Linked DNA regions of Homo sapiens: all the other regions are linked to region 1. Evidence: promoter capture Hi-C in 16 types of primary human blood cells and fetal thymus (Javierre and others, 2016). All regions are on one chromosome and are shown on one strand. Each heading gives the region's core, a stretch centred on a gene start or on the middle of the fragment in contact. The rest is flanking DNA. Distances are from core to core; before and after follow the strand shown.

Region 1 (2,837 bases), core at 129-2,628:
TCTCGGTTCAGATTTCTCATGCATGAATCAGACATTAGTCCACGGGGACCCTCAAACTACGTATACTGCCAATGGGAGTCTAAATTGGTACCTTGATGCAATCAACCCAGAGAGCAATTTGGTAATAGCTAACAAAGTTGCAGATTTCGCAGCAAATTCACTTTTGGGAATCTGCTTGGTGAATCCATTGCACATGATGTTCATTGCTGCTCTGTAAGGCCGTTAAAGTAGAAATAACCTCTCTCACTAAGGAATGTAAAAACAAATATGGGTCAGTCATACAATGAGCAGTGAAAATTATCTAGCGATTGACCAAATGGATAAATCTTGAGAGTATAATTTTGAGAGAGGAGAAAGGTGCACAATGAGAGGTACAACTATGATTCCATTCCATGATATGTCTAAACATGCAAAAGAAAATATTATTTATGGGTATGCATATAAGGACATGCATGGACATGATATACAACATTCTCAGCACAGTGATTGCCACTGGGGAGGGAGACAGAATGAGATGGAGGAGGTACGCAGGGGCTTCTGCCTATATGTATTGTTCTATTTAAAAAAGAATGAATCATTGATTACACCTCAATAAAGCTGGGAGGAAAAAAGAATGAAAGCAAGTCTGATAAAATTTCAAGCTAGTGGTCGGTCCACAGGAATCTGTATTACTCTATTTGAAATATTTTCATTATTTTACTTAAAAAGTAACAGAAGGGAGTCAGGGAATGAACGCTGGCTGTCCGGAGTCCATCACAAGAGCTGCTACTACTCCAAGCAGACACTAGTAAATTTTGCTAGGGCCTCCTGAAGGCACTTTTGAGTCCAGACAGTCATGGTGCCAGACCCTATTCGGACATCCCACTGGCACTTGAGAGGAAAGGAAAGGAGTGCCGGGAACGTTCCCATAACTTAACGGGTTCCATTCACGTCTACAGCAGGGGAGGGCTCATGTTAAGGAAGCCCAGGAATCCAGCATATCGCCTCATCCTAGGGCCCCCTCTCACAGGAGGCCACGCCCAAGCAAGCAGAGCGTGGCCCCAGCAAGCGCCGAGCTCCCGCAAGGAGACCAAATAGCTTCGGGGTTTTGCCACTAGCTTAGCACAGGCCCATAAGCACCGGGGACTCAAGGCACCTTTGTAGAAACAATGAGTGACTGGAGTCCCAGGTCTTGCCACTACAGAGGCGCGTATGAACCACGGTTTAACACTACGTCTACGCCGAAGTTCGGGTTAGTCAGAGGCCACGCCCACCGCAGGCCCGAAAACACCAGCCTGCACTGGCGCGCCGGATTGTGCGCAGGCTCCACCTGCCACGCACGCACGCCTTGCCCCGCCCCTTCCGGAGGCTCGCCGTACGCATGCGCCCTCCGTCCCGCGCTTTGTTGCGAAAGCGAGGGGGCGAGGTGCTGCGGTGCTAGAGCGCGGCGCGACCGGACGCTGCGGGCGGGGAAGAGGATGGAGACTGTGGCGTCCGCTGCAACGGTTGGGGCTGCGCGTGAGAAGGTGGCGGTGTAGGCACCTGCGCTCGGGGAAGGCTGGCGGCGGCGGCCGAGCCATGGCGGGAGACCCCCTTCTCTGGGCTCCCTGAAGTCTCGGGGAGCCGTGACCCATGGGATCGTTGAGCAGCCGGGTGCTGCGCCAGCCAAGACCAGCCCTTGCCCAGCAGGCGCAGGGTGCCAGGGCGGGGGGCTCGGCCCGGAGGCCGGACACTGGAGACGATGCGGCGGGCCACGGATTCTGTTACTGTGCGGGCAGCCACAAGCGCAAGCGGAGCAGCGGGTCCTTCTGCTACTGTCACCCTGACTCGGAGACGGACGAGGATGAGGAGGAGGGGGACGAGCAGCAGCGGCTCCTCAACACCCCTCGAAGGTACGTGGGGGCACGCACCCGCGCGGACCCGGACCCGCACCTGTTGGGCCTGGGGCCGAGCCGGCGCCTCGTGCGCTTGCGGGGTGCAGCGCTCCCCAGCCTATGGAGAGGGGACGTGCCCTTGACAGGGTGAATGTGGAAGCCGGCCCGATGCGGGGCGGACTGGGGAGCGCCTTGGGAGACGCCAGGTGTTCCGCATTTTCAACCACAGACGCTTCCAGGGTGTTGTTACAGCCCCAAGATGAGGATGAGAAACGCCAAGCCCGAGCTCGCGTCTCGTTAAACCTTAGAGACGCCCGGCTGGCTGGCCTTCCCAGTCCACCTTTGCCCTCTCAAGTGGGTAGCCGCAGAGTAAGTTGTTTTGCATCCGGTTGCCTTAGTACAGACACTAAATGTAATCTCTGAAATAGGCACTCTTATTGTCGCCCACTCAGTGGAGGGTAAGTAATTGCACACAGGAGTTCTTGTTAATTGTAAAGGTGAAGTTTATCAATAGTGTACATTTGTTCCTAACTAGGAACAGAGTCTGTGCAAGTTTCTAGTAGTTGATGAAGTCGTTGACCGTGGATGTACTGTATGTAGGGCGGTGCTGCTGCAGCTTGTTTAACCCCTTTTTTTTTTTTTTTTGGATGAGTTGAAAGATGGAATATTGACTTGTGACCTGGAATGTAGTTTATAGGTAGAATATATGCTTACACAAACAATTTGGTTTTTCTGCTTTTGTTTTTAAAGGTTATTTGGTAGGGTCACACATGAAATTTTTTAAATGATTTCTTTTTCTTTTTGAGACAGAGCCTTGCTCTGTCACTCAGGCCGGAGTGCAGTGGTGCGATCTCAACTCACTGCAACCTCCACCTCCTGGTTCAAGCGATTCTTGTGCCTCAGCCTCCCGAGTAGCTGGGACTACCGGCGCGCACCACCACGCCTGGCTAATGTTTTCTGTTTTTAGTAGAGACAGGTTTCATC
Region 2 (2,837 bases), core at 174-2,673, 470 kb after region 1:
ATGATGTTCAACTTAAGGCACTCGACCGCCAAGACTTTTTCCAAAATTTCAAACCCTGTGAAAACTGGTTGGCCATCAGTATCACAACTGTTAACAGAACCAAGACACTAAAGCCAAGAGTTTTGAACAAATGCTTGTCATCTCCTGCAAAAGTCTGTATCAAGGACTACAGTGCTCTGTCTAGGATATTTCTCACCTGGAACTTCTCCAGCTCACTGGTGACCAAAGCCTGGGCTTGAGCCAGAGGCACATGGCAGCGCTCGATGCACTGGTGCACCTGCTTCATGGAGGCCTGGCTGTCCTCACAACAGCTGGCGCTGCACCGGAACATGAGACCCTGGGGAGAAAGGGCAGAGAGGTTAGGTAGGAAAGTCTCTGGGGACAGAGATGACTATGGAGCACTACAGGAGTTAGAAGGCCACGTGGATATTTGCACCTCTCTCTCCACCTTCTGCTTTCACCTTCCCTGAGAATAGACACCAGGACCTTAAAACCACCACTGGGGAAAATTATCCTCAATGTCTAGTGTAGTGTTTCATGGTGTCCTTGCTGCTAGCTCATCGGCACCTGTTGCACCGATGGTTGGGTGAACAGAGGTTCGCCCGAGTGGGTGAGGGTAGGGTGGTCTGACGAAGCCAAATTCTGAAAACCAGGAGCCTCTTCCATGGGGTTCAGAGGTCAGCAACCTAGCAATACAAATTCCACCAGAGGGCAGCCGACCCACTAATCAATGACTCAAGGGGCACTATCTGGGAAACGCATACTCCGTGAGAGAAGCAGGACCGAAACACACAGAGGCATTGCGGGGCTCAGAGAAGAACAGTGTAGAAACCCGCGCTGTGTGAAGCGAGGTTGGGCGCAAGAGAAGCAGGCATGACCTGGCCAACGGGGAGGCCGGAAGTCCTCGCCTTTCTGGTCTTTCACGTTGGCAGCGCCTCTGCTGGGCCTCGGGCCGCTCACCTGCGGAAGGGGCCGCGTAAGAGGGGAAGGTGGTGGGGCGAGCGCCTGCCACCAGGGGCTTCCCACCTGCCGCCGAGGACGCTCCTGCCCCGGGCTGGAAGGGGCGGAAAACAGCCTCGCGCACGGCAAGGGCACACGGATTTCATCCGATCCGCCAAAGCTTCCGAAGTCCTGTCCGAGGCCGCCCCGGCGACCCCAGGGCCGCCCACACCCGGTCTGCGGGGACGCGGCTGCAGTGCAAGGCGTCGCGTGGTGGCTGAGGGAAGGGCCCGGAACCCACCCGCTGAGAAGGGGGTCCTGGTTCGGCCCCAGCCCCGCTACCTGCATCTTCCGGATGTTCTCTCTTTCCAGACTCTTCACCATGGACTCCACCGCCTCCTGCACCCGGAGCTGCTGCAGCTCAGCCATGGCGACCCCGCGCTGCCCCGCGGCGCTCCGCGCCGGCGCCCATATGGAATCGGCGTACGGGCCCGCCCCCTCACCGCCCTTCGCCGCCCTTCGCCGCCTGCCCTTCCAGGGCCCACGCCCCCCCCTGGCGGCCGAACGGAGCCACTGCATGCTGGTGTCCGCGAGCCCACCGCCCTCCTCCCGCTTGGGAACCGGTCACTGGGACACCTGCCCTGCGGCTGCTGCCTGCCTTTCCTCCTCCCTCCCATGTCCCTCCCTTTACATTCTTTAAAATTATTTAATGTAATTTACATACAGATAAATGCCCAGATCTTAGGCGTGCTGCTTGATGAGTTTTAACAAACCCTGTCCGCCGGGCGCAGTGGCTTACGCCTGTAATCCCAGCACTTTGGGAGGCCGTGGGCAGGTGGATGACCTGAGCTCAGGAATTTGAGACCAGCCTGGCCAACCTGGCGAAACCCCGTCCCTACTAAAAATACAAAAATTAGCCGGGTGTGGTGGCACATGCCTGTAGTCCCAGCTATTTGGGAGGCTGAGGCAGGAGAATTGCTTGAACCCGGGAGGGAGAGGTTGCAGTGAGCCGAAATCACGCCATTGCACTCCAGCCTGGACGACAGAGTGAGACTCTGTCTCTAAACAACAATAAAAACCCAAACTCTGTCTTGTCCCAATCTCCGTCCTTTCTACCCCATCTCCCCACCCCTGCCCTAACTGGTCTGCTTCTGTCACTGTAGATTACATTTTCTCTTTCTAGAATGTCATATGTATGTTATTATCCAATAAGTACTCCTTTTCTGTCTGGCTTTTTTAGCATATTGCTGAAAAATACTTAGCCTAATGCTTTCGAGATTGAGCTGTGTTGTTGGTTCTTTTTTGCTGCTGAGTAGTATTCTATTGAATGGACATACCACATTTGTCGTTGTTGTTTTTTGAGACAGGGTCTTACTCTGTCACCCAGGCTGGAGTGCAGTGATGTGGTCTCGGCTCATGCAGCCTCCACCTCCCTGGTTCAAGTGATTCTCATGCCTCAGCCTCCCGAGTAGCTGGGATTACAGGCATGTGCCACCACGTCTGGCTAATTTTTTTTTTTTTTTTGTAGACACGGGGTTTCACCATGTTAGCCAAGCTGGTCTCCAACTCCTGAGCTCAAGGGATCCACACACCTCGGCCTCCCAAAGTGCTGAGATTGCAGGCATGAGGCATCGGTCCCGGCCCACATTTGTTGATCCATTCCCCTGCTGATGGGTGTTTGGGTCTTTTCCACTTAGTAGCTATTATGAATAAAGTGGTGACTATGAACATCCTTGACCATTTTTTTTTTCTTTTGGAGATGGGATCTTGCTATGTTGTCCAGGCTGGTCTCAAACTCCAGGCCTCAAGCTATCCTCCTGCCTCTGCCTATCAAAGGGATTACGGGTATGCACCACCACCCAGTCCTGGACCAAGTCTTTTGTAGACACAGATTTTCT
Region 3 (2,837 bases), core at 186-2,685, 450 kb after region 1:
TTTCTATAATTAGGAAATGCCATTTAAGAGTGAGAGAGGTATATATCTATGAGCCATTGTGTTTGGTGTTTTACAAGAACTTTACCATACTGGTGTGTAGTCCATTCTGTACAGTTTAAAAGTGATTCACGATTTGCAGGCTTTTTATCAGATCACAAAAAAATCAGTCTTTAAGCATTTGCTTGGTAAGGTTTCTTAAGATTAGGTTTATAATACAACCATCTGTAATGTATCTCTCGTTTGAGCTTGTGGGCCATACAATTCATTAACTAGATGAATACATTGTGGACAGCATCCTCACTACCCCTCTCTACTCACTCACAAAGAACCATGATACACTGGAATGTTTTTCTCTGGAATCCTCTTTCTACTCTTGTATTAAAATTTTTCCCCACTTCATGATTATATTCAAAATAAACAACTACATCATTACTTCTTGTCTTTTGCTTCTGTTGTACTATATTTGGAATGTAGATGTACTTGGGAAAGTCAGGCTAGATCAAAGTTACTATTCTTACAAGTTTTGAAAATTAGTGTTTTAGAAGAAACTCACTCATGTTTGTAACTTCTTTATCTGTTCAGTGTTGAAAGATGATGGACAGAAGGAATCCTTGCCATGTTTCACATTTAATAAGATTCTTTCACTTTAATGCATAAAACCCTTTGAAATCAATGTCAACCAGGAAAATTCATGTTAGAAAAAACTGGAATGAGAGCTGATATTCTATATTCAGAACATCTGAGAAAGCATTTTTGACTATTACAAAAGTTTATTTAACAAAAAGTCTAATATGAAAATGTACATGACCTAATTTTTACATCATAGTAAAACAGGCCCTATGGAGAGAGGACATGGGTTTCTCTGCTGAACAGCCATTATTTATACTCGTTCCAAGGCTTCTAACATGATGATACTATTTCCTCGTATTACCTAAGAAAGAGAAAAATAAATTTGAAAAGAACAACTCAGGTAACAGACATAACTATGATGATTTAAGAATTTTCACCAAATCATTAATGGTTTTTTAATATTACATGTCGGTTTGCAAAGCTTTGTTCAAGCCACAGGGACACCAAACAACTCTAAGCCCTTTATACGACAGACATCTTTTGGATTTAAGGCTAACAATTTGCTTTATGAGATTCTAATGCCAAGTCTCCAATGACTAATTTCACCTTTTTTTTTGAGACAGTCTCACTCTGTTGCCCAGGCTAGAGTGTAGTGGCGCAATCTCGGCTCACTGCAGCCTCTGCCACCCAGGTTCAAGCAATCCTGCTTCAGCCTCCCAAGTAGCTAGGATTACAGGAGCCCTGACCACGCCCAGCTAATTTTTATATTTTTGGTAGAGACGGGGTTTCACCATGTTGGCCAGGCTGGTGTCAAACTCCTGACCTCAAGTAATCTGCTTGCCTCAGCCTCACAAAGTGCTGGGATTACAGGCGTGAGCTACTACGCCTGGCCCTAATTTCACCTTCTAAAATGCAGGACTCAAATTTAAATGCCCATCCCTGACTCTATGGGATCCAAAAATTAATGAGTAAAATATGTACAGTAGAGTATGTTAGGTACAGTTTGGAGGTATGAGATCATTTAGGGAAGAAACCAGGATGGGAAATTGTGAAAGGCATGCTTTATGAAAATGACATTTTACCTGGGTCTTGGAAATTGGGCAGAATTTTGAAAAGGAGATTGTAGGAAATTCTAGACAGAACTAAGATGAAGACAAAGTATGAGAGGATAAGGAAGTAATCTAATTTGAATGCAGTAAAAAGTTCACGAAGAGAATCAGGAAACAAAGATAGTTGGCATTCAATCTTGGAAAGCTTCAAATGCCAATCTTAGTGTTTGGAGGACATCAGAAACTAACAATGAGCCAGTGAGAGTTTCACTTGGGGGAATGACAACCATAAGTGTCCCTGCAACAAGATATTATATAAATACGCCGAAGTTTGAATAGGACAGAACCTAGAGGCAGAAAGAGAAGTTATAAAAAAAAGGCCCTAGGAGAACAGTGCTTGACCTAGTAGATAAGCCATAAATGAAGATAAGAATATTTATCGGGGGTGTGGTGGCTCACGCCTATAATCCCAGCACTTTGGGAGGCCAAGGCGGGTGGATCACCTGAGGTTGGGAGTTCGAGACCATCCTGGCCAACATGGAGAAACCCCCATCTCTACTAAAAATAAAAAATTAGCCGGGTGTGGTGGCACATGCCTGTAATCCCAGCTACTCAGGAGGCTGAGGCAGGAGAAATCACTTGAACCCGGGAGGCGGAGGTTGCGGTAAGCCAAGATAGCGCCACTGCACTCCAGCCTGGGCAACGAGCGAAACTGTCTTTTGTCAAAAAAAAAAAAAAAAAAAAAAAAAAAACAACAAACCAAAACCAAAACAAACCAACAGACAAACTTATCAGAGTATAGATGAATCAGCTGGTAAATGAATTCAAGAGGGGTAGAAAAATAAGCGAAACTGGAAGGCTAGGGGACTAAAAACAGTAAGTCCCTAATAGACTGGAGATCATCATAATCGATAGATCACCCATCAGTCAAGTAGAATTGGATAGGTGAATGGAGGGGTACGGGAGGGAAAGAATAGGTAATGTAGGGGAGAGAAAGGTAATGTAATAATTTGAGGTGTTTATTAGAAATGGAGGCATTCCAAAAAGATTCAAAGTGGAGCTATGCTTATAGGCAGCTAGAGTAAAAGTAGTTGTAACTTATTCTTTTCTCACAGTATCATGCTTGTTTTATTTACACATACGCTATGATTTATTGTGTTCTCCATACAAATGTAAATTTTATGAGGGCAGGGACTTAGGTGCAAAACCCCAGTGCCT
Region 4 (2,837 bases), core at 245-2,744, 450 kb before region 1:
CTCTCCCCAAAGAAGCAGTTCCAGGCCAAAGACTTACAGAAATCCCATATTTCATTCAGATTAAAAAAAGATACACACACACCTTACATTTTTATTTTTTTAAGCTTTCCTGTAATGTACAGTCATCTTACTTTCACAGCACCACCACCCTGTAAGGGAGGGTAGAACATCTATCTTACATAATTCAAAAATAGAAATTGAGTTAACTGATATCCCAGAGATACCCACAAATAGCATTCCCAACCTCAAAGCACAGCAATTAAGATAAGGATAAACAACATGCTGCTTAAGGATATTGCTAAGGTAAGAGTGGTAGCGGCACAGCAATGTGCAGCTTCCAACTTTCAATGGCTACTCATGATATAAACACTAGAGGGCAGCAGAAGAGTCTCCAGACCAATCTGCACCCATTTAATTCAGAAGAATGAGTCCGGGGTTTTTGTTGCTACTGCTGTTCCTTCATGAAGTATCTGTAATATGAATAAACGAATAACCCAATTGTAAATCAAACTTTGCACTCTTCACCTATGGGTCACTGATCTTTGAGAAAGATTAAACACGTACAGATAACTATCAATTAAGTATTTTAACCAGGTCATTAAAAGACAATACACAGCACACAAATCTTTTCTAAAACAATACTTTAATACAAATGTGGGCCAGGTGCAGTGGCTCACGCCTGTAATCCCAACTTTGGGAAGCTAAGGCAGGCGCATCACCTGAAGCCAGGAAATCAAGACCAGCCTGGCCAACATGGCGAAACCCATAGTTACTACTAAAAATACAAAAATTGGCCGGGCATGGTGGCGTGCACCTGTACTCCAGCTACTTGGTAGGCTGAGACGGGGAGAATCACTTGAACCCTTGAACCCAGGAGGCGGAGGTTGCAGTGAGCCGAGATCGCACTGCTGCACTCCAGCCTGGGAGACAGAGCGAGACTCCATCTCAAAAGAAAAAAAAAAAAGTGTGAAAAAAACTGAATCTGAACTAGTTCCCACCACTGTGACTGCATCAGCTAGAGTCCACTAAAGGAGGATACAATCTAGCTTATTTGAAAACAGAAGCCTGTCGAGGATTGTTTGCAGATTGTCCAGAGCTGCCAAATTCTAAGCACATCCAGAAAAACTCACTCCTAAACTCTCTCTTTTTTAAGAAATCTAAGTCTGATAGTAAAAGTAAAAATGTAAGCCAGATGATAAAAATGAAAGTTGGTAAAAACATAAAAATGTAAGCCGGATGGTAAATGATTTAAAGATTAAAGATGTATATGAATGTGTTAAAACTATTTAAATGCTAATGATATAAAATTGTTTTTAAGACAATTTATAGACTCTACTTTTTTTTAAAGATTAATGCGGCAGGGCTGGGTGGCTCACGCCTGTAATCCCAGCAACTTGGAGGCCAAGGCGAGTGGATCACATGAGGTAAGGAGTTCAAGACCAGCCTGGGCAACACGCTGAAACTCCGTCTCCACAAAAATACCAAAATTAGCCAGGCATGATGGCAGGTGCCTGCAATCGCAGCTACTCAGGCGGCTGAAGCAGGAGAATTGCTTGAACCTGGGAGGCAGAGGTTGCAGTGAGCTGAGATCGTGCCACTGCACTCTAGCCTGGGCAACAGAGCAAGACTCCGTCTCAAAAAAAAAAAAAAAAAAAAGATTAAGTAATGCAATATTAAATTCACTGTTTTTAATAATGTAACTCAACAACAGCATTCAACTTTAATAATACTTCTAACTCCAATCTCCTTGGTTTATAATGGCTCACTATATGAATCTTGAGAGCTTAAGAACATTTTGGCTGGGCACAGTGGCTCACACCTGTAATCCCGACACTTTGGGAGGCCGAGGCGGGCGGATCACGAGGTCAGGAGTTCAAGACCAGCCTAACCAACATGGTGAAACCCCGTCTCTACTAAAAATAAAAATAAAAAAAAAAAAATAGCCAGCTGTGGTGGCACGTGCCTGTAGTCTCAGCTACTCGGGAGGCTGAGGCACGAGAATAGCTTGAACCTGGGAGGCAGAGGTTGCAGTGAACCTAGACTGCACCACTGCACTCCAGCCTGGGCAACAGAGCAAGACTCCGTCTCAAAAAAACAAACAAAGAAACAAACAAAAAAGTAACAGAGCTAGAAGAAGGAAGGGGATTAGCCTCAGACATACCTGATGAGGAAAATGGGAGCTAAGAAGTTGAACCTGTCAGTTTCATAGCCCTGTCCCTTGATAGCACTACTAGCCCAAGACATTCCACCTGCGGGGATACCGGGTTAACTGTAATCTTGGGGTGCCCGAGACAATACTGGCAGCAATTCATCAGGTACACAGGGCATGTTCACAAGGGAGGCATTCACAACTCACAATGATGCTTGTTAGAGCAGAAATCGTTAGTCTGACCTCTATTTTCAGGTCTTTGACTTGTCTTATCAAAACTCCCAATAAACAGTTTTTTGTTTTTTGTTTTTTTGAAACAGAGTCTCGCTTTGTCGCCAAGGCTGGCGCCATCTCAGCTCACTGCAACCTCCACCTCCCAGGTTCCAGCAATTCTCCTGCCTCAGCCTCCCAAGTAGCTGGAATTACAGTGGCCGCCGCCATGCCCGGCTAATTTTTTGTATTTTTAGTAGAGATGGGGTTTCGCCATGTTGGCTAGGCTGGTCTCGAACTCCTGACCTCAGGTGATCCACTCGCCTCAGCCTCCCAAAGTGCTAGGATTACAGGCATAAGCCACTGCACCCGGCCTAAACTCCCAATAAACAGTTCTTAAGTAAGGTAATGACAAAAGCCTAATATCAACTTTCCGCCACTCTTCAGTAATTGCTCTAAGAGCACACACAGTAGCTGT
Region 5 (2,837 bases), core at 158-2,657, 430 kb before region 1:
CTGGCCAAAAGGCCAACAATGCCTCAAGGATCCAGACCCTTTTTTTTTTTTTCCTGAGACAGAGTCTTGCTGTCGCCCATGGTGGAGTGCAGTGATGTGATCTCGGCTCACTGCAACCTCCACCTTCCAGGCTCAAGTGATTCTCAAGCCTCAGACTCCCTAGTAGCTGGGACTACTAGGTGGCATGTGCCACTGCACCAGGCTAATTTTTGTGTTTTTAAGTAGAGATGGGGTTTCACCATGGTGGCCACACTGGTCTCAAACCCTTGGCCTCAAGTGATCTACCCGCCTGGGTGTCCCAAAGTGGTGGGATTACAGGTGTGAGCCACCGTGCAAGGCCAAGGATCCAGACCCTTTCTTTGCTCTTTGCTATTCTCAGTGGACCACCTTTTAGTCATGATTACAAGTTGACTGTCATTGCTTTGAACATCACACTCTACAGTGTACCAAGCAGGAAGAAAAGGAATGGATGGAGGAAAAAAAAAAGAGCCTTCTTTCCAGAGATTAACTCACATACACACTCTCTTAACTAGGAAAGACAATCTTTCCAGAATTCTCCAATAGACTTTCTCTTCCAGTTTACTGGCCAGAGCTAGGTCATATGGCTACCCACAGACTAATGACTGGAAAAGAAAAATGGAGTTAAAGTGACTGGTTTAATCATAACTATCCCCTGGGACTGAGGTGAGACCTACTGAGAGTGCCTTCCTTAACAAGAAGTGAGGGTGTATGTTGGGTAGGCAACCAAGAGTTTCTGTGGCACTCTCTATACTACCACTGCCTACTCATGCACCATTTTCACTTTATACTCAAGCCATACTTAGTTTCTTGAGGTTCCCAAATACATTTCACACTTACAATTCTGATTATACTGTTCTTATGCCTAGAATGTTCTTCCCACACCTTTCCTCCTTGTTCTTCATGGCTGTTGCTTTTGTAGAAAATCTTTCCTCTCTTCCTCTTTGGCCTCTCAATTGAATAATTTCCTGTTTTTTTGTTTGTTTGTTTGAGACAGACTCTCGCTCTGTCACCCAGGTTGGAGTGCAATGGCACGATCCCAGCTCACTGCAACCTCCGCCTCCCAGGTTCAAGGGATTTTCGTGCCTCATCCTCCTGAGTAGCTGGGATTACAGGCACATGCCACCTTGCCTGGCTAATTGTTGTATTTTTAGTAGAGACAAGGTTTCACCATTGGCCAGGCTGGTCTCGAATTCCTTACCTCAAGTGATCCACCCACCTCAGCCTCCCAAAGTGTTGGGATTACAGGCATGAGCCACTGCGCCAGGCCAATTTCCTCTCTTCTAATAAACTAATCCTCCATCCAATTCAGCCACTTATTTCATGGCCACATACAAGATCTGCCATTACTGGCATCTCATCCACGATGTCAATTTCCTGTAGCTTCAACTAAAGGGCAGGTTAAGTTGCCTTGCTTATGAAGCAATTCCCAGTGTCTAAATTAAATTCATACATGATATCTCAAGGAATGAATTCTCCAACCCTACTATTTGGTTCAGTGAACCAAAGGATAAAAGTAAAAACTTCAATTCCCAGCACTCACAACTGCTAGAGTTCTTCCTGTTTCCATCACTATCTTAATCTCCTTAATTTGAGGGACTAGAATTCCAGAGATGCAATGCATCACAACTATTTTTCCCATCTTTCCTTTCCCTGTATTTTCTGTTAACTGCAGTCTCTGAATTACTGTAGAAAAATGAGAGAGGAGGCTAAATCACTCTTTTGGCTACCTGAAAAAGCAGTACCCCTAGAGTACAAAAATAATGATGCACACTTCTGGCATGGTACAGATTTTGGATCTCTGAGTCAGAAGCCAGTGGGAGGACCAAAGCAGCTTCTTCTCTTTTCTTCAGCAATTCTGATTGATAAGGTAAAGGCTGGGCATGCTGAGGCAGTTTTTCTAATTTGGCCATCTCCATCTTAACCAATAGAAACTGTGTCCAGATTCTGGGAGTTAGTTTTCAAGTTTTTCACCTTTTTTTTTTTTTTTTTTTTTTTTTTTTTTGAGATGGAGTCTCGCTCCGTCCCCCAGGCTGGAGTGCAGTGGCGTGATCTCAGCTCACTGCCACCTCCGCCTCCCGGGTTCAAGCAGTTCTCCTGCCTCAGCCTCCTAAGTAGCTGGGATTACAGGCGCGTGCCTCCGCGCCCGGCTAATTTTTGTATTTTTAGTGGAGACGGGGTTTCACCATGTTGTTCAGGCTGGTCTCAAACTCCTGACCTCGTGATCTGCCCACCTCGGCCTCCCAAAGTGCTGGGATTATAGGCGTTAGCCACCATACCCGGACATTTTTGATTTCTTTTTTTTGGTCTTAAGCAGTTCTTTGCTACTTAATTGGGGGCTAGTAGCCAGATACCATTTTTAAAACAGACTTGTTTAGCTGTTTCTTAAGCTAAAAACTTCAGTAAAAATAGTTTTAGATATTTCACAAAAAGCTATTTTAGAATATTCTAAAAAGCATTCTGTTTCTTCCTGTATGGAAAAAAGTAAATAAATTAGATGGGGGGAAATGTATTTTAAACTCCTTCACACATATGCAAAGAAAGAGCCATGGGAAATGAGGGACAAAAATAAAAATATCCTTGGATAAAATCCACGTGTACAGAAGATGATTCAAGAGGTTATAAATAACTCATATGAGGTAAAGCAAACATGCAATATTTATATATCATTCTCTGAAGAGCATATTTTATTAATCTTCAAGTTCCTCAGCATATTAATAATAAAAACTTGATATATATTATCAACAAGTCTGACTGTTATGCCCAAAGAAAATCCAGATTATTTTAAGGTGAGTTTGCTTCTTTTTCATCTGATTCAT
Region 6 (2,837 bases), core at 125-2,624, 440 kb after region 1:
GTGCAGTGGTGTGATCATGGCTCACTGCAGCCTGGACCTCCTGGGCTCAGGGGATCTGCCTACCTTAGCCTCTGTGTAGCTGGGACTACAGGCACGTGCCATCAGATCTGGCTAATTTTTTGTATTTTTTTTGTAGAGATGAGGTTTGGCCATGTTGCCCAGGCTGGTCTTGAATTCCTGGGCTCGAGTGTTCCACTCACCTGGGCCTCCCAAAGTGTTGGGATTACGGTTGTGAGCTCCTGTTCCCAGCCTTGTTTTTTTTTTTATCTGTGGCTTGCTTGAGATGTAGAGAATTGCCCTTTGAGAAATTAAGAAATTACTTTTTTTTTTTTGAGATGAGTTTCACTCTGTCACCCAGGCTGGAGTGCAGTGGTGCAATCTCGGCTCACTGCAACCTCTGCCTCCTGAGTCCAAGCGATTCTCCTGCCTCAGCCTCCTGAGTAGCTGGGATTACAGGCATGTGCCACCATACCCAGATAATTTTTTTATTTTTAGTAGAGATGGGGTTTTACCATGTTGGCTAGGCTGGTCTCAAACTCCTGGCCTTAATTGATCTGCCCGCCTTGGCCTCCTAAAGTGCTGCGATTACAGGCATGAGCCACCGCACCTGGCCTAAGAAATCACTTTTGAAGTGAATTCAAGGTATTACAGAACTGGGAAAAAGAACCAGTGAGGGGATACATAGGTTATACTGTTTTTGACTTTAAAAAATAATTTACGGGCCGGGCGCGGTGGCACACGCCTGTAATCCCAGCACTTTGGGAGGCCAAGGCAGATAGATCTTGAGGTCAGGAGTTCGAGACCAGCCTGGCCAACATGGTGAAACTCCGCCTTGCTAAAAATACAAAAATTAGCTGGGTGTGGAGGCGCAGCTAATGCCAGCTACTTGGGAGGCTGAGGCAGTAGAATCGCTTGAACCCAGGAAGCGGAGGTTGTGGTGAGCCAAGATCAAAGTATACACAAGGTGGAGAAAGACCTATGTAACAGTAGTAAACCATGACACTCGAAAGAGGGCTCAAGCTTGTGGTAGGCAATACTCGAAAACAGTGCATTCATTCATTCTCTGCTGTTGGAGGTACTTGAGTGGAAATCCTGCAGCCCCTGACATCAGCACTAGCTAGCTTAATTTCCACTTCTGCACATACATTTATGTAGTTGTTCTGGTTGGATGCCATTCTTAACTAATTTTTTTTTTTTTTTTTTTTTTGAGACCAAGTCTTGCTCCGTCACCCAGGCTGGAGTACGGTGGTGCAATCACAGCTCACTGCAGCTTTGACCTCCTGGTCTCAAGTCATCTTCCAGCCTCAGCTGGGACTATAGGCATGTGCCATCATGCTTGGCTAATTTTTTAAATTTTTGTAGAGACAGGGTGTTGCCATGTTGCCCAAGCTGATCTTGAACTCCTGGGCTCAAGTGATCCTCCCACCTTGGCCTCCCAAAGTGTTGGGATTACAGGCGTGAGCCACCGCGCTCAGCCGGATGCCATTCTTTACTCCCAAGTCCAACCTCTTATCTCACTTTTTCAGCAAAGCATTTCCTTAATGCTTCAATCAACATTCATCTTTCTTTTCAAACATCCCTTATTATACGGTGCACACTGTGTGCTTGTGTTCTATGCTACGCACAGTAACTAGAATGTAGTAGATGTTTACTCAGATGTTTGTGGAATTTAAATCTCTGGTCTGCTGATGGCTTCCTGTTGAGATATCTTGGCTTGTAGACTAGGTTAAAGCTTATTCTTCTCTCTCAAGTTAGTGCATTTCTGGGGACTTGTAAGATCCTTAACACTTCTTGATCTGAGACTGATAGACTCACAGGGAAAGGCTTTATAAACACCCTTTCTTCCTTCCAGTTACTCCTACCAAATATTTTGAGTCAATTTTTGTTCTTTCATTTCCCAAACCCACTCTATCTTGAATCCCATCAGCCTTTAAAATACATCCAGTATTCCACTACTTCTCTCCAGGATTACTGCTACCACTTTGTTCCAAGTCACCACCACTGTCTCTTGTCTGGATTGCTAGAGTAGCCTCCTATTATAGGCTGAATAATCCTCTCCCCTGCTGTCTGCCACAAGATGTCCATGTCTTAATTCCTGGAACCTGTGAATGTGTTACCTTTTGAGGTAAAAGAGACGTTGCAGATATGGTTAAGGATGGGTAGATTATTCTGGATTATCTAGGTGGGCCCAATATAATCACAAGGGTCCTTAGAGAGGCAGGAGGATCAGGGTAGGTAGTAGGAGATGTGATGATGGAAGGAAGAGATTGGAGTGATGCTAGGAAGGGGTGTGCGTCCACGAGCCAAGGAATGCAGGTGGCCTGTAGAGGCTGGAAAAGACAGTCTTCCCTCAGAGCTTCTAGAAGGAACCAGCCTTGTGCACACCTTGATTTTAGCCCGGAGAGACTGACTTTGGTCTTCTAATTTACAGAACCGTAAGATTATAACTTTTTTTTTTTTTGTTAGTATTTATTAATCATTCTTGGGTGTTCTTCGGAGAGGGGGATTTGGCAGGGTCATAGGACAATAGTGGAGGGAAGGTCAGCGGATAAACATGTGAACAAAGGTCTCTGGTTTTCCTAGGCAGAGGGCCCTGCCGCCTTCCGCAGTGTTTGTGTCCCTGGGTACTTGAGATTAGGGAGTGGTGATGACTCTTAACGAGTATGCTGCCTTCAAGCATCTGTTTAACAAAGCACATCTTGCACCGCCCTTAATCCATTTAACCCTTAGTGGACACAGCACATGTTTCAGAGAGCATGGGGTTGGGGGTAAGGTCATAGATAAACAGCATTCCAAGGCAGAAGAATTTCTCTTACTACAGAACAAAATGGAGTCTC
Region 7 (2,837 bases), core at 221-2,720, 410 kb after region 1:
TTTTCCATAAATGCTACCATTGGGATAAGTAAGGAGATCTAGATTAAGGAAAGACTGGTTTTAAATTTCTCTTCATCTTTCCCCATCTTTCCCTCCTGTCTTTCTCTATGGGTACATGGATTTTTTCTCCTTTATCCAAAGGCATACCGATATTAAATGTGATAGAATAAAAGAACATAACTCTTTGTTGATTTCATCTATATAATATGCAGATGATTTTGCAGCATCAGAACAAAGGTCTGACAACATTTTAAGATCTAAGACAACAAATCAAAGCCAATTGGATAAATATATATTTTTGAGACAGTCTCCCTCTGTCGCCCAGGCTGGAGTGCAATGGTGCAATCTCGGCTCACTGCAACCTTCGCCTCCTGGGTTCAAACAATTCTACTGCCTTAGCCTCCTGAGTAGCTGGGATTACAGGCGCTTGCCACCATGTCCGGCTAATTTTGGTATTTTTAGTAGAGACGGGGTTTCGCCATGTTGGTCAGGCTAGTCTCGAACTCCTGACCTCATGATCTGCCTGCCTCGGCCTCCCAAAGTGCTGGGATTACAGGTGTGAGCCACTGTGCCCGGCTAAATAATTACTTTTAAAAATATTAAGTAAAAAAAAGTTGAACTGGAATACAACAGGAAAGAAGGTAACAGATACACATACACACATACATGATTGTCTTTTCTGGAGAAAAGAAAACTGAAAGTTTATAGCAGGCTGGGTGCAATGGCTATACCAAGACCCTGTCTTTCAAGACAAACAAACAAACAAACAAACAAACGAAAAGTTTACAGAAAAGAGAGACCATGGGACAAAAGGATTTCTCTTTAACATAGCCTTTCCCATTAAAAAATTTAGGCCAGGTACAGTGGCTCATACCTGTAATCCCAGTACTTTGGGAGGCCAAGACAGGTGGATCACCTGAGGTCGGGAGTTCTAAACCAGCCTGACCAACATGGAGAAACCCCATCTCTACTAAGAATACAAAATTAGCCAGGTGTAGTGGCGCATGCCTGTAATCCCAGCTACTTGGGAGGCTGAGCCAGAAGAATTGCTTGAACCCGGGAGGCGGAGGTTGCAGCGAGCCGAGATCGCACCATTGTATTCCAGCCTGGGCAACAAGAGCAAAACTCCGTCTCAAAAAAAAATTTAAAGTCTTTTCCCCCCAACCAGGAGACAAAGACTCCAGGGAAATGGGGTAAATGTTCCCTAAATGTCTTTTTATACCTATTATGATTCAGGGTTAACACCAATTAGATGAATGAGTGTGTGTGTGTGTGTGTGTGTGTGTGTGTATGTGTGTGTGTTTAATACATTGTCTCATAAATAGGAATTGCCTAAATACAAGAAAAACTTGAATGATGACCTTTAAAAATAAAGTTAAAAATACTTTCACTGTACCAAATGCCTATTATTTTTAAACCTGTTTTCCAATTTAATTGTAAGAGCTGAATTTATTAGCCAACCAGTTGACACCACATATAAACATTTCTGATGCCTCAATGCACCTGAAAGAGCCCATATATATGTTCCCATCTGATCTAGAAATAACTAGTTCTATTGTCATCTTCCATCATGTAATAAAACAAATTAAATTCAGCTGTCAAAACAGGTTCATTACAAATTCACTAAAATCCCTATTAACTTAGAATATGGTAAACTAAGACTATATTTAGACTACAGTAAACTAATAATTTATACTATATTTAGACCATGGTAAACTAAGAATTCCTTCCAAGCAATGGCTTTAAGTAATGTGTAAAAAAAAAAAGAATAAAGTTAACTAAGTAAAATACCCTTACATCCATAATCATTTTGCAGTTTTTACAAGGTCCAATCTGGCTAAAGAGTTGCAGAATTAGAGCTTCTGTCACATCTCTGGAAAGGTTACCGACGTATCTGAAACACAAAGAGAAACAATTTACCTTTTTTTTTTTTTGAGACAGAGTTTCACTCTTGTTGCCCAGGATAGAGTGCAATGGCACGATCTCGGCTCACCACAACCTCCGCCTCCAGGGTTCAAGTGATTCCCCTGCCTCAGCCTCCCCGAGTAGCTGGGATTACAGGCATGCGTGACCACACCCAGCTAATTTTGTATTTTTAGTAGAGACGGGGTTTCTCCATGTTGGTCAGGCTGGTCTCCAACTCCTGACCTCAGGTGACCCGCCTGCTTCAGCCTCCCAAAGTGCTGAAATTACAGGTGTGAGCCACTGCACCCGGTTTTTTTTTTTAAGAGAAATAGTCTGGCTATATTGCTCAGGCTGCTCTCAAACTCCTGGCCTCAAGCAAACCTACTGCCTTGGTCCCCTGAGTAACGGACTAGAGGAACCACCACACCCAGCTCAATTTACCTCAATTTATTTTTTTTTCAGACAAGGTCTTCTGGGTTGCCCAGACTAGAGTGTAGTGGCGCAATCTTGGCTCACTACAATCTCCACCTCCTGGGCACAAGGGATTCTCCCACTTCAGCCTCCCAAGTAGCTGGGACCACAGGCGTGTGCCATCATATCTGGCTAATTTTTTTACAGTTTCTGTAGAGAAGGCGTTTCACCATGTTGCTGAGCTGGTCTCAAACTCCTGGGTTCAAGCGATCTGCCTGCCTTGGCCTCCCAAAGTGTAATCTTAAAGATTACAGGCATGAGGCATTGTGCCCAGCCCTTGATTTACCATTTTTAATTTGCTTATTCTCCATCGGTTTCTAAAGTTGTTCATTAAAAATTAAACTTGAGAAATAGGCAGATCTTTGCCTTAAACTATAATATTTGGGAGTAACTTTTAAAAGTTTGCCAACACTTCAAAATCTCTTTGAAAACAGATGTAAAGTATGTTATTTGAAAATATA

The links. The method cuts DNA at HindIII sites, captures the fragments that hold promoters and counts their contacts. A CHiCAGO score of 5 or more calls a contact.
Region 2: a contact is called between the fragment with the promoter of FAM136A here and the fragment with the promoter of GMCL1 in region 1, in 8 of 17 cell types (neutrophils, fetal thymus, naive CD4 T cells and 5 more). The highest score is 19.1, in neutrophils.
Region 3: a fragment that was not itself captured here is called in contact with the fragment with the promoter of GMCL1 in region 1 in 5 of 17 cell types (total CD8 T cells, neutrophils, fetal thymus and 2 more); the score reaches 5.7 in total CD8 T cells.
Region 4: a fragment that was not itself captured here is called in contact with the fragment with the promoter of GMCL1 in region 1 in 2 of 17 cell types (M2 macrophages and naive CD8 T cells); the score reaches 5.7 in M2 macrophages.
Region 5: a fragment that was not itself captured here is called in contact with the fragment with the promoter of GMCL1 in region 1 in 1 of 17 cell types (total B cells); the score reaches 5.2 in total B cells.
Region 6: a contact is called between a fragment that was not itself captured here and the fragment with the promoter of GMCL1 in region 1, in 2 of 17 cell types (neutrophils and total B cells). The highest score is 5.8, in neutrophils.
Region 7: a fragment that was not itself captured here is called in contact with the fragment with the promoter of GMCL1 in region 1 in 2 of 17 cell types (naive CD8 T cells and neutrophils); the score reaches 5.9 in naive CD8 T cells.

The regions. Positions count from the first base shown.
Region 1 is chr2:69,828,282-69,831,118 of GRCh38, forward strand. It overlaps GMCL1 (germ cell-less 1, spermatogenesis associated), which reads left to right and starts at 1,379. Exons shown (of 14, transcript NM_178439.5): 1 at 1,379-1,871. The coding sequence starts at 1,612. LOC124906021 (a long non-coding RNA gene) reads right to left here and starts at 1,250. Exons shown (of 2, transcript XR_007086846.1): 1 at 1-1,250. RefSeq lists enhancers at 415-1,336, 731-820, 1,337-2,257 and silencers at 1,231-1,460, 1,841-1,920, 1,868-2,043. The HindIII fragment of the contact is 7,336 bases long and covers 1-2,837 here.
Region 2 is chr2:70,300,644-70,303,480 of GRCh38, forward strand. FAM136A (family with sequence similarity 136 member A) reads right to left here and starts at 1,424. Exons shown (of 3, transcript NM_001329752.2): 1 at 961-1,424; 2 at 197-337. The coding sequence starts at 1,368. RefSeq lists enhancers at 1-709, 710-1,658 and a silencer at 1,344-1,613. The HindIII fragment of the contact is 2,364 bases long and covers 1,119-2,837 here.
Region 3 is chr2:70,280,754-70,283,590 of GRCh38, forward strand. PCYOX1 (prenylcysteine oxidase 1) reads left to right here. Exons shown (of 6, transcript NM_016297.4): 6 at 1-432. It overlaps SNRPG (small nuclear ribonucleoprotein polypeptide G), which reads right to left. Exons shown (of 4, transcript NM_003096.4): 4 at 609-931. The coding sequence ends at 881. Among named protein-coding and RNA genes, the nearest start is that of SNRPG, 12 kb to the right of the region's middle. The HindIII fragment of the contact is 773 bases long and covers 1,050-1,822 here.
Region 4 is chr2:69,375,572-69,378,408 of GRCh38, forward strand. The region is part of intron 1 of GFPT1 (glutamine--fructose-6-phosphate transaminase 1); the gene reads right to left. Among named protein-coding and RNA genes, the nearest start is that of GFPT1, 10 kb to the right of the region's middle. The HindIII fragment of the contact is 2,784 bases long and covers 103-2,837 here.
Region 5 is chr2:69,393,444-69,396,280 of GRCh38, forward strand. It overlaps NFU1 (NFU1 iron-sulfur cluster scaffold), which reads right to left. Exons shown (of 8, transcript NM_001002755.4): 8 at 2,683-2,837. The coding sequence ends at 2,803. Among named protein-coding and RNA genes, the nearest start is that of GFPT1, 7.6 kb to the left of the region's middle. The HindIII fragment of the contact is 6,902 bases long and covers 1-2,837 here.
Region 6 is chr2:70,264,014-70,266,850 of GRCh38, forward strand. The region is part of intron 3 of PCYOX1 (prenylcysteine oxidase 1); the gene reads left to right. Among named protein-coding and RNA genes, the nearest start is that of PCYOX1, 7.3 kb to the left of the region's middle. The HindIII fragment of the contact is 712 bases long and covers 1,019-1,730 here.
Region 7 is chr2:70,234,282-70,237,118 of GRCh38, forward strand. TIA1 (TIA1 cytotoxic granule associated RNA binding protein) reads right to left here. Exons shown (of 13, transcript NM_022173.4): 2 at 1,798-1,894. Among named protein-coding and RNA genes, the nearest start is that of TIA1, 13 kb to the right of the region's middle. The HindIII fragment of the contact is 3,544 bases long and covers 1-2,837 here.